Regions from separate parts of the Homo sapiens genome. Here region 1 is linked to region 2. Evidence: promoter capture Hi-C in 16 types of primary human blood cells and fetal thymus (Javierre and others, 2016). All regions are on one chromosome and are shown on one strand. Each heading gives the region's core, a stretch centred on a gene start or on the middle of the fragment in contact. The rest is flanking DNA. Distances are from core to core; before and after follow the strand shown. Region 1 overlaps MAPK8IP3 (mitogen-activated protein kinase 8 interacting protein 3). Region 2 holds the start of PTX4 (pentraxin 4).

Region 1 (3,907 bases), core at 319-2,818, 260 kb before region 2:
GGCCTGGAGCGGGGTGGGTTGCAGCAGCCTCTCTGCATGGGAGTGTCAGCAGTAAGCCCAGTCCCCAGAGATCCCACGTCCAAGCAAGCCAGTGGCTGGACCTCCTCTCGGCCCTCATTCCCCTCTTCTCTTTCCCTCACTGGCCTGTGTGCCGTGGGGCAACGCAGGTTACTGGTTAGTGGGGCTGTGTGCCATGGGGTGACGTAGGCTACTGGTTAGTGGGACTGTGTGCCGTGGGGCGATGCAGGTTACTGGTTAGTGGGGCTGTGTGCCGTGGGGCGATGCAGGTTACTGGTTAGTGGGGCTGTGTGCCGTGGGGCGATGCAGGTTACTGGTTAGTGGGGCTGTGTGCCGTGGGGTGACGCAGGCTACTGCCTTAGTTGTGTCTCCCCAAATCCATATGTTAATAGATACCCCCTAGCATGACTGTATTTGGAGGCTGGGCCTTTCAAGAGGTGATTATGGTAAAATGAGGTCACGTGGTGGCTCTAATCCAATGGGGCTATGTCCTTGTAGGAGCTGGAGATGAGGACACAGACACACCCAGGGGATGCCTGTTGAGGACACAGGGAGAAGGTGGTGTCTACAAGCCAAGGAGTGGCCGCAGGAGGAACCTACCCTGCCAGCGCCTTGATCTTGGACCCCAGCCTCCGGGCTGTGAGGAACACGTCTCTGCTGCCTGCACTGCCCGCCTGGTGCATTAGTTTCACATCTACCCAAACCAAGCCCTGCCTCCTGCCCGAGGGAGCCCAGAGTCCCGGAGGTGGGCACCCACCTATACTGACGTTGCGCATCTCCTGGGTGACCTGTACTTCCATGTTGCGGCTGTCGCGCTTCTCCCGGGCACGCTTGCTGTTCTTGGAGCCCACGCCATAGTCCCCCAGGGGCTGCAGGCTCTCGTTGAGGGGTGTGACGGCGGCCGAGGGCACGGAGGATGTGGGCGTGTTGGACTTGGTGCCTGTGGTGCTGGGTGTGGCGGCCGCCGAGGACTGGCCTGACTCGGACATTTCATCCTGTGGACACTAAGGCCAAACACAGGGAGGAGGGAGAGCGAGTCACTGCAGGTCCCTGGCCTGCGGCTCCGCCGTGGCTGCCTGAGGCCCCGCGCACCAATGCTTTGCACTTTGCCTCGCCCGACACCCTGCGGGCCAGAGCTCCTCTGCCGCCCACCGGGCTAACCCTTCCGGGCCTCACCACTCCCGAGTGGCTCTGCTTATCCGGCCACTGACTCCGGCTCCTCGGAAGCAGGGCCACCCTCCTGAAATGGCTTGGAACGGGGCTTTCCACTGGTGCCCTCCCCAGACGATTGCTTGTAATGGGCCAGTGCCTCGCCAGGGACACAGCGGCAGCCCCCTGTAGCTTGTGGCTGTTCAGAAACAAGTCCAGCCCAGGTAGGGCAGAGGGCTCTGACTGGGGACCCAAGAAGGGCTGGCTGTGCCGCCACCGCTGCCCCGTCACCATCACTGTGCTGAAGAGCTCGAGGCTGGGCCCACCCGCGCCTGCCCCACGTTCCTCCCCGGGCTCAGGTCAGGGCCAGGGAGTGACCAGAAGGTGCTGACCCTGTGGCTTGACTGGACCAGAGCTCACCCCTGAACATGAGCAAGCGCAAAGAAACCACAATCCCTGCTCACAGAAAGGGACGCCACCAAGACATTCTGGAGGGTGGGGGCAGCCCGGATTACGAGAAACCGCAACCAGCCGTCTACCTCAGGAAGCTCGCTAGGGAGGAGCGCATTCTATGTGACTAATGCGGAATGCGAAACAAACATTCTTTCCAATGGTCTTTCCTAACAAAGATACTGAACCAGCTGGAGAAAAAGAGCCCCAAACGTTCTCGTCTTAGCTGACCTGATCACCCGCTATGGCAGAGCTTGCCCGTGGCCCCCGGCCCTCCTTGAGGTGTGGGAAAGTGCAAGGCCTCAGAGGCACCCAGGTGGCTCCTGTGCCTGTCCCAGGCAGCCGCTGGGTGGGTTCCCGTGGTCTCTCAGAGGGCGCACCGTGGGGGACTCTAATGCTAAGGATCTCACCCAGGGAGGAGCTGTCGAGGGGGTATCCAGCCCTCTCCACAGCTGACTTATACTGGCCTTTAAGTGACCAGGGCAGACGGGACTTCCAGAAGTCATGGCCAGTGCTGACCTCTGCCTCTGCCCAGCCTCTCTGGTCACCGCCAGACTCAGGGCACGGGGCCTCTCAGTACCGGACACGGCCACTCACTCAGAGGACACATTTCTGCTTCATCTACCAGGCTCCTAAGTTTCTCTAGAAGGAATCTCAAAATGACACACCTTCCTCTATAGTAGCTATTCTCAGTTGGGCTGACTGCCCCGAGGGGATGCTTGCAAAGTCCAGAGACATTTTTGTGGTCACAAATGAAGGGGGTGCTCCTGGCTTTCGTGGGTGGAAGCCAGGGATGCTGCTCCACACCCACCGCGTCCCAGCGGCCCAGGCCATGCATGTCCAGCCCCAAAAGATGAGCAGTGCCGAGGGAGAGCCCTCACACGGGCGCAGCCCGCCTCCCGGAGTGGCTTTGTAGAAATGTCTGAGACGGCCTGTGGCTCTGCAGCTATGCCCAGTTTGAAAGGAAAACCCTTGCTCTTCATGTCACTCCCCACGCTGGAGGAAGCGAGTACCGCTCATGCAAGAAGTCTGTGCTGACGTTCTCAAAGAACCTGTCTACCCAATGTGTCACAGGCACCTGGTGTCTCACCGACTCTGCCACCACCCGGCAGAGAGAAAACAGGGAACCCCATGTGGCCAGGCAGGGTGTAGCTGTGCACATCAGACAAACGCTTCTGGGCCACCTTCCTCCACGCTGGGTCCCCGGCCTGCTCCTGACCCTCATGGTGGCTGCGGGGAATTCTGCAGTCTGATTGCGCCTCCCCTAGCTCTCCGTCACCCTACAGGGCCACCACTTACCCATGGGACACTCCCCCTGGCCACAACTTACCTAAAGGCAAACCTCTCAACCTCCTAAACATCAACGTGTAGCAGTGACCTCCAAATGCACTGAAAGAACCCAAACTCTTAGCGGTCATTCCTCACCATGAGTAGCCACAACTGTTTGGTTAAAACACTGAAAATACAGTACATAAAAACAAAAACAAAACAAAACAAAAAACAACAAAAAAATTAAGAAATTAGAAAAACTTCAAAACCTAGAGCATAAAATAAAAAGAACTTAAATGTAATAATTTAAAATAAAGAAAAATCAAATAAAACACTCCTATGAACGAAAACATAAAACGCTACAATTTATGAAGAGAGCGACGATGTCAGACAACGCAGGAGGTGAAAGGAAAGACATCATGAGAAGAAGAGCGGGCCCAGAGCGGGCGCGAGAGGCAGCCCGGAGGCCAGAGAGCGTCAAGCAAGGGCTCCCCCCGGCTGAGGCTGACGTGTCTTCAGATGCCTATGGGCAGGTCCCAGCTCCAGGCCCGGGAAGCGTGAGCCAGAGACAGTGAGAGGAGGTGGGCCCAGGTGGCAGGGCTGGGCCCAGAAGGCCCGGGGAGCCCGCAGCCCCGCCACCCTCTCTCCAGCCCTGAGCACAGGGAGGACAGGAGAGCGTTCCAGATGCCATGAGGGAGCTCGCTCCCAGAGCAGCGCAGCAGCAGGTGGGCTGACGGAGCAGGAGCCTGCAGCAGCCCCCACAGGCACGATGGACACTTAGAGGTGGAAGGACAGTCGGCAAAGCATGCAGCAGGAAGTAAGCTTCTGGAGAAGTCCCAGGCCCCACATCCACCAGCCCAACCCAGCCCACAGGCCCCAAGGGCTCTGCCTCTGTGGACATCCTCTGACGGCCCCTGTGGGAAATCCACCAGACCCGGGGTCACCTCTTCTTCCCAGGAAGGTGGCTGTCCTTACCTGGCACTGAGGCCAGTGAGCTCACAGGCCAAAACTGGCAGCAAGC
Region 2 (3,907 bases), core at 473-2,972:
GTGGCTGCCAGTCCCCCGGGGCCTAAGGCCCCAACCCCGTCCATGTGCCCAGGATGTTCTCTCCGATGCTTTCTGCATCTTCTCCATGTCCATGGTGTTCTGACGCTTGACAAGGGGAGCCTGGGGGCCACCGATGGTTTCCTGGCCTGGCACCCTCTTGGCTCATGCCACCTTGGGAATGATGGATGCCCCCAGTGGGACAACTTTGTGGATGATCTTATTCCCATGAGCTGGGCGGCTTGAAACAACAGAAATGAGTCCTATCACAGTTCTGGGGGCTGGAAGTCTTGAAGTGAAGGTGCACACTCCCTCGAAGGCTCTGGGCTGGGGGTTCCCACTTTACCTCTTCCAGCTTCTGGGGCCTCTGGGGGTTCCTCGTGGCAGCGTCACCCCAGTCTCTGCCCCATCTTCACAGGCCGTGTCCTCTGTGCCTCCTCCTCTGTCTCTTGTACCCCTGTCATTGGCTTTAGGGCCACCTGGATAATCCAGGATGGTCTCATCTCAAAATCCTTCATGACATCCGCAGAGACCTTTTCCACATAAGGCCCTGCCTGGGGCTTATGTGTGTTTTTAGGAGGGTCTCATTCAAGCCAGTACACAACCTGTAACCAAAAATACCAGCCTGGCCCACATGGGGCAACCCCGTCTCTACTACAAATACAAAAATTGGCCGGGCGCGGTGGCTCATGCCTGTAATCCCAGCATTTCGGGAGGCTACAGCGGGTGGATCACCTGAGGTCGGGAGTTTGAGACCAGCCTGGCCCACATGGTGAAACCCCGTCTCTACTAAAAATACAAAAATTAGCCGGATGTGGGGGCACATACCTGTAATCCCAGCTACTTGGGAGGCTGAGACAGGAGAATCCGTTAAACCCAGGAGGCGGAGCTTGTGGTGAGCGGAGATCGCACCACTGCACTCCAGCCTGGGTGACAGAGCAAGACTCCGTCAAAAAAATTAATTAATTGGCCAGGCGCAGTGGCTCATGCCTGTAATCCGAACACTTAGGGAGGCTGAGGCAGGCAAATCATGAGGTCAGAAGTTTGAGACCAGCCTGACCAACATAGTGAAACCCCATCTCTACTAAAAATACTAAAATTAGCCGGGCATGGTAAAGCACGCCTGTAATCCCAGCTCCTCAGGAGGCAGGAGGCTGAGGAAGGAGAATCGCTTGAGCCGGGGAGGCAGAGGTTGCAGTGAGCTGAGATTGCGCCATTGCACTCTAGCCTAGGCAACAGAACGAGACTCCATCTCAAATAATAATAATAATTAATTAATTAAGGTGGCTCCCAGTCACATTTCCATTGCTTTACTGAGAGAGACGGGGCCTCCCAGGATGCAGCCGTGCACGGCCTGGGTGATGGGTGCCTGTGCAGACCTGGCTCTGTTGACTCCCCAGCCCCCGTCGGGTTCCCTGTCTTGCTTCGACTTCTCGGGAGCACAAGTCCATGTGCTCCTGTTAAAGCCATCGCCTCCTGCCCGCGGGCTTGCACCCAGCTGAATGATTCTTCAAAGAAACTGTTTGCATCTGTTTTAAGCTTGTCTCCTTAGGAACCTGCAAGTCTCAGAGCCCACTGGCTTGAAGGCAGATGCCTTTCATGGAGGCGGCAGGAAGAACCTGACATCCAGCCAGGGCCAAAGAAGGAAAACCACTCAACAGGAGAGCTGGGGGGACGAGACACAAGACAGACCCACGGAGCCACCTTCACCCTCTCCTGCGGCTGGAGGGAGACTGCTGGGGCCTTGCCGTCTCTCCGGATGGGTTGCTCGTGGAGGAAGACCTTGTCTTTCTTCCTTGTTTTTGTGCCTATATATCTACATGGGGCTTCATCGCAGGAAGCCGCCCCAGTGGGGCCCAGGAAACCGTTTTTCGAGAGGCTCCGTAGGCTGGAGGAACAGGCAAGTTATACCCCTGACATGGCGCAGTCGGGTTTTTAAATTGGCAGCAGATGGAAGACGGATGTTACAGAAGCAGATTGGTAAACATCAGGGCTTGGCGGACACGAACACCGCGTGTGACGCTCTTTCCATCCATGAAGATTATTTCACCTGCAGTTGGACACCAGGGAAGAGCTGAGCTGGGCTCCACTCACACAGGACACAAGCCTCATAACATGTGGGGGTCAGGTGGGGCCAGAGGCTAGAAGGGGGTCTGGAAGGGAGTCAGGGGAACTGGGGGCCATGGGGGCCGGGTAGTGTCATGGGGAGTGGAAACTGGGAGGTCACAGGTCCACCTTGTGGCAGTCGGTGTGAACGGCCTCCCGGACTCCCACGCGGGGTCCACGGACAGTTCCGGAGTGCTGTGGGCCTGTCGGGCCTGCGCTGGGTGCTTCCTGTTTGGGCCTCGTAAAGCACTCATGAGGCCACCCTGCCGTCCCCTGCTCACAGGCAGGAGCTGGAATCACGAGGGAAAGTGACTTGCCGGTGGTTATGGGGTGAGCGGTGGGGATCAGAGCCCCAGCTGTGGGCCTGGAGTCCACACCCCACGTGGTGCAGCTGCATGGCCTGGGGTCAGTCCCTGGCACCCACCACATCTCACGGCATCGCAGTGGGGATCAAATCGGTGGGCAGATAGCCAGTGCTGGCCGTGGCCCGGGCACGCGGCCGCTGCTCCCAACTTGAGAGGGCAAAGCCTTTCCCGTCCCGCCCAGCCGGCCCGGCCCGGCCCGCCCCATCATCACCGTGTCCTCCTTACAGTTCCGGAGATTCCAGGAGGTGACCTGGACACACCTGCAGAACATCGCCAGCAACTACAACGTGTCCTACAACGTTGACGTCCGGTTCCGGAGCCTGGCGGAAGAGAGCCAGGCTGTGGCTCAGGCAGTCAACCGGTCACAGGCCTCGGTGCAGGGGGAGCTGGCGCAGCTCAAGGCCTGGGTGAGGAAGCTGCAGCGCCGAGGCCGGAAAGTAGACACGCGGCTGCGGGCCTTGGACCTCACCCTGGGCGAGAGGAGCCAGCAGCGGGCCCGGGAAAGGAAGGCACACAAGGCCCAGAGGGACGCCCTGCAGGACTCACTGGCACGCCTGGAGGGCCTCGTCCACAGCCAGGGCGCCAGGCTGGCTGCTCTGGAGGGGCGGCTGCCCGTGGCCCACCCTGGCACTGCAGCCCTCGGGCCGGCCCTGGTCCCAACCCCAACCCAGCCTGAGGAGCTGGGCCCGACCTCCCTGAAGCTTCAGAGGGACAGGCAGGAGCTCCGAGCTGCCTCTGAGCACAGGGGCCCCCCACAGGACTCCTCGGCCCCTCTCCAAGGGAGGCGGGAGCCTCCAGCCTCAGGCAGCCATCGGGTACTCAGTGGGACTGCCCCAAAAGACCCTCGGCAGCAGGCATGGTCCCCCCAGGTGCCAGGAGAGAGTAAGTACCACAGGCTCCCAGCTCACGGCCAGGCTTCCCTCCAGCTCCTCCTTAGACCAGGCCCCCTGGAAAAGGCTTCTCAAAAGAGGTTCAGTTAGGGGCCGGGAGATGGGGAGAGGGTCTCGGATCATCGGGGGGGGTGGCCCACCGTCATCACAGAGGCTTTCTAAGGGGAGGCAGGAGGAACACAGTCAGAGGAGGGCGTGAGGGCAGAAGCAGAGGTGGCGGGATGCACAGACGAGGAGGCCCCACGCCGAAGGGTGCAGGCGCCTCTGGAAGCTGGAAAGGGCGGGAGATGGTTTCTCCTGGAGCCTCCAGAGGAACCAGCCCTGTCCACACCTGATTTGAGCCCTGGGAGACCGTGTTGGCCTTGTGACCGCCAGAAATGTGAAACACTAAACCTGCGCTGTTGTGAGTCATGAAATTTGCAGAGACTCCCTGGCAGTGAGGGGCGCTGGCTCAGCTGGGTGGGCCGACAGCTAGGGCTCCTAGCAGGACCCCGCCACTCCCGAGTACGGCCCTCATGTTCAGTCTTCCCGCCTGTGGAACTGGGGTGA

What was found. The method cuts DNA at HindIII sites, captures the fragments that hold promoters and counts their contacts. A CHiCAGO score of 5 or more calls a contact.
Region 1: a contact is called between a fragment that was not itself captured here and the fragment with the promoter of PTX4 in region 2, in 1 of 17 cell types (endothelial precursors). The highest score is 5.0, in endothelial precursors.

The regions. Positions count from the first base shown.
Region 1 is chr16:1,744,144-1,748,050 of GRCh38, reverse strand. MAPK8IP3 (mitogen-activated protein kinase 8 interacting protein 3) reads right to left here. Exons shown (of 32, transcript NM_001318852.2): 6 at 776-1,022. Among named protein-coding and RNA genes, the nearest start is that of MIR3177, 11 kb to the right of the region's middle. The HindIII fragment of the contact is 4,285 bases long and covers 1-3,710 here.
Region 2 is chr16:1,486,759-1,490,665 of GRCh38, reverse strand. It overlaps PTX4 (pentraxin 4), which reads left to right and starts at 1,722. Exons shown (of 3, transcript NM_001328608.2): 1 at 1,722-1,897; 2 at 2,696-3,350. The coding sequence starts at 1,757. The HindIII fragment of the contact is 1,633 bases long and covers 1,539-3,171 here.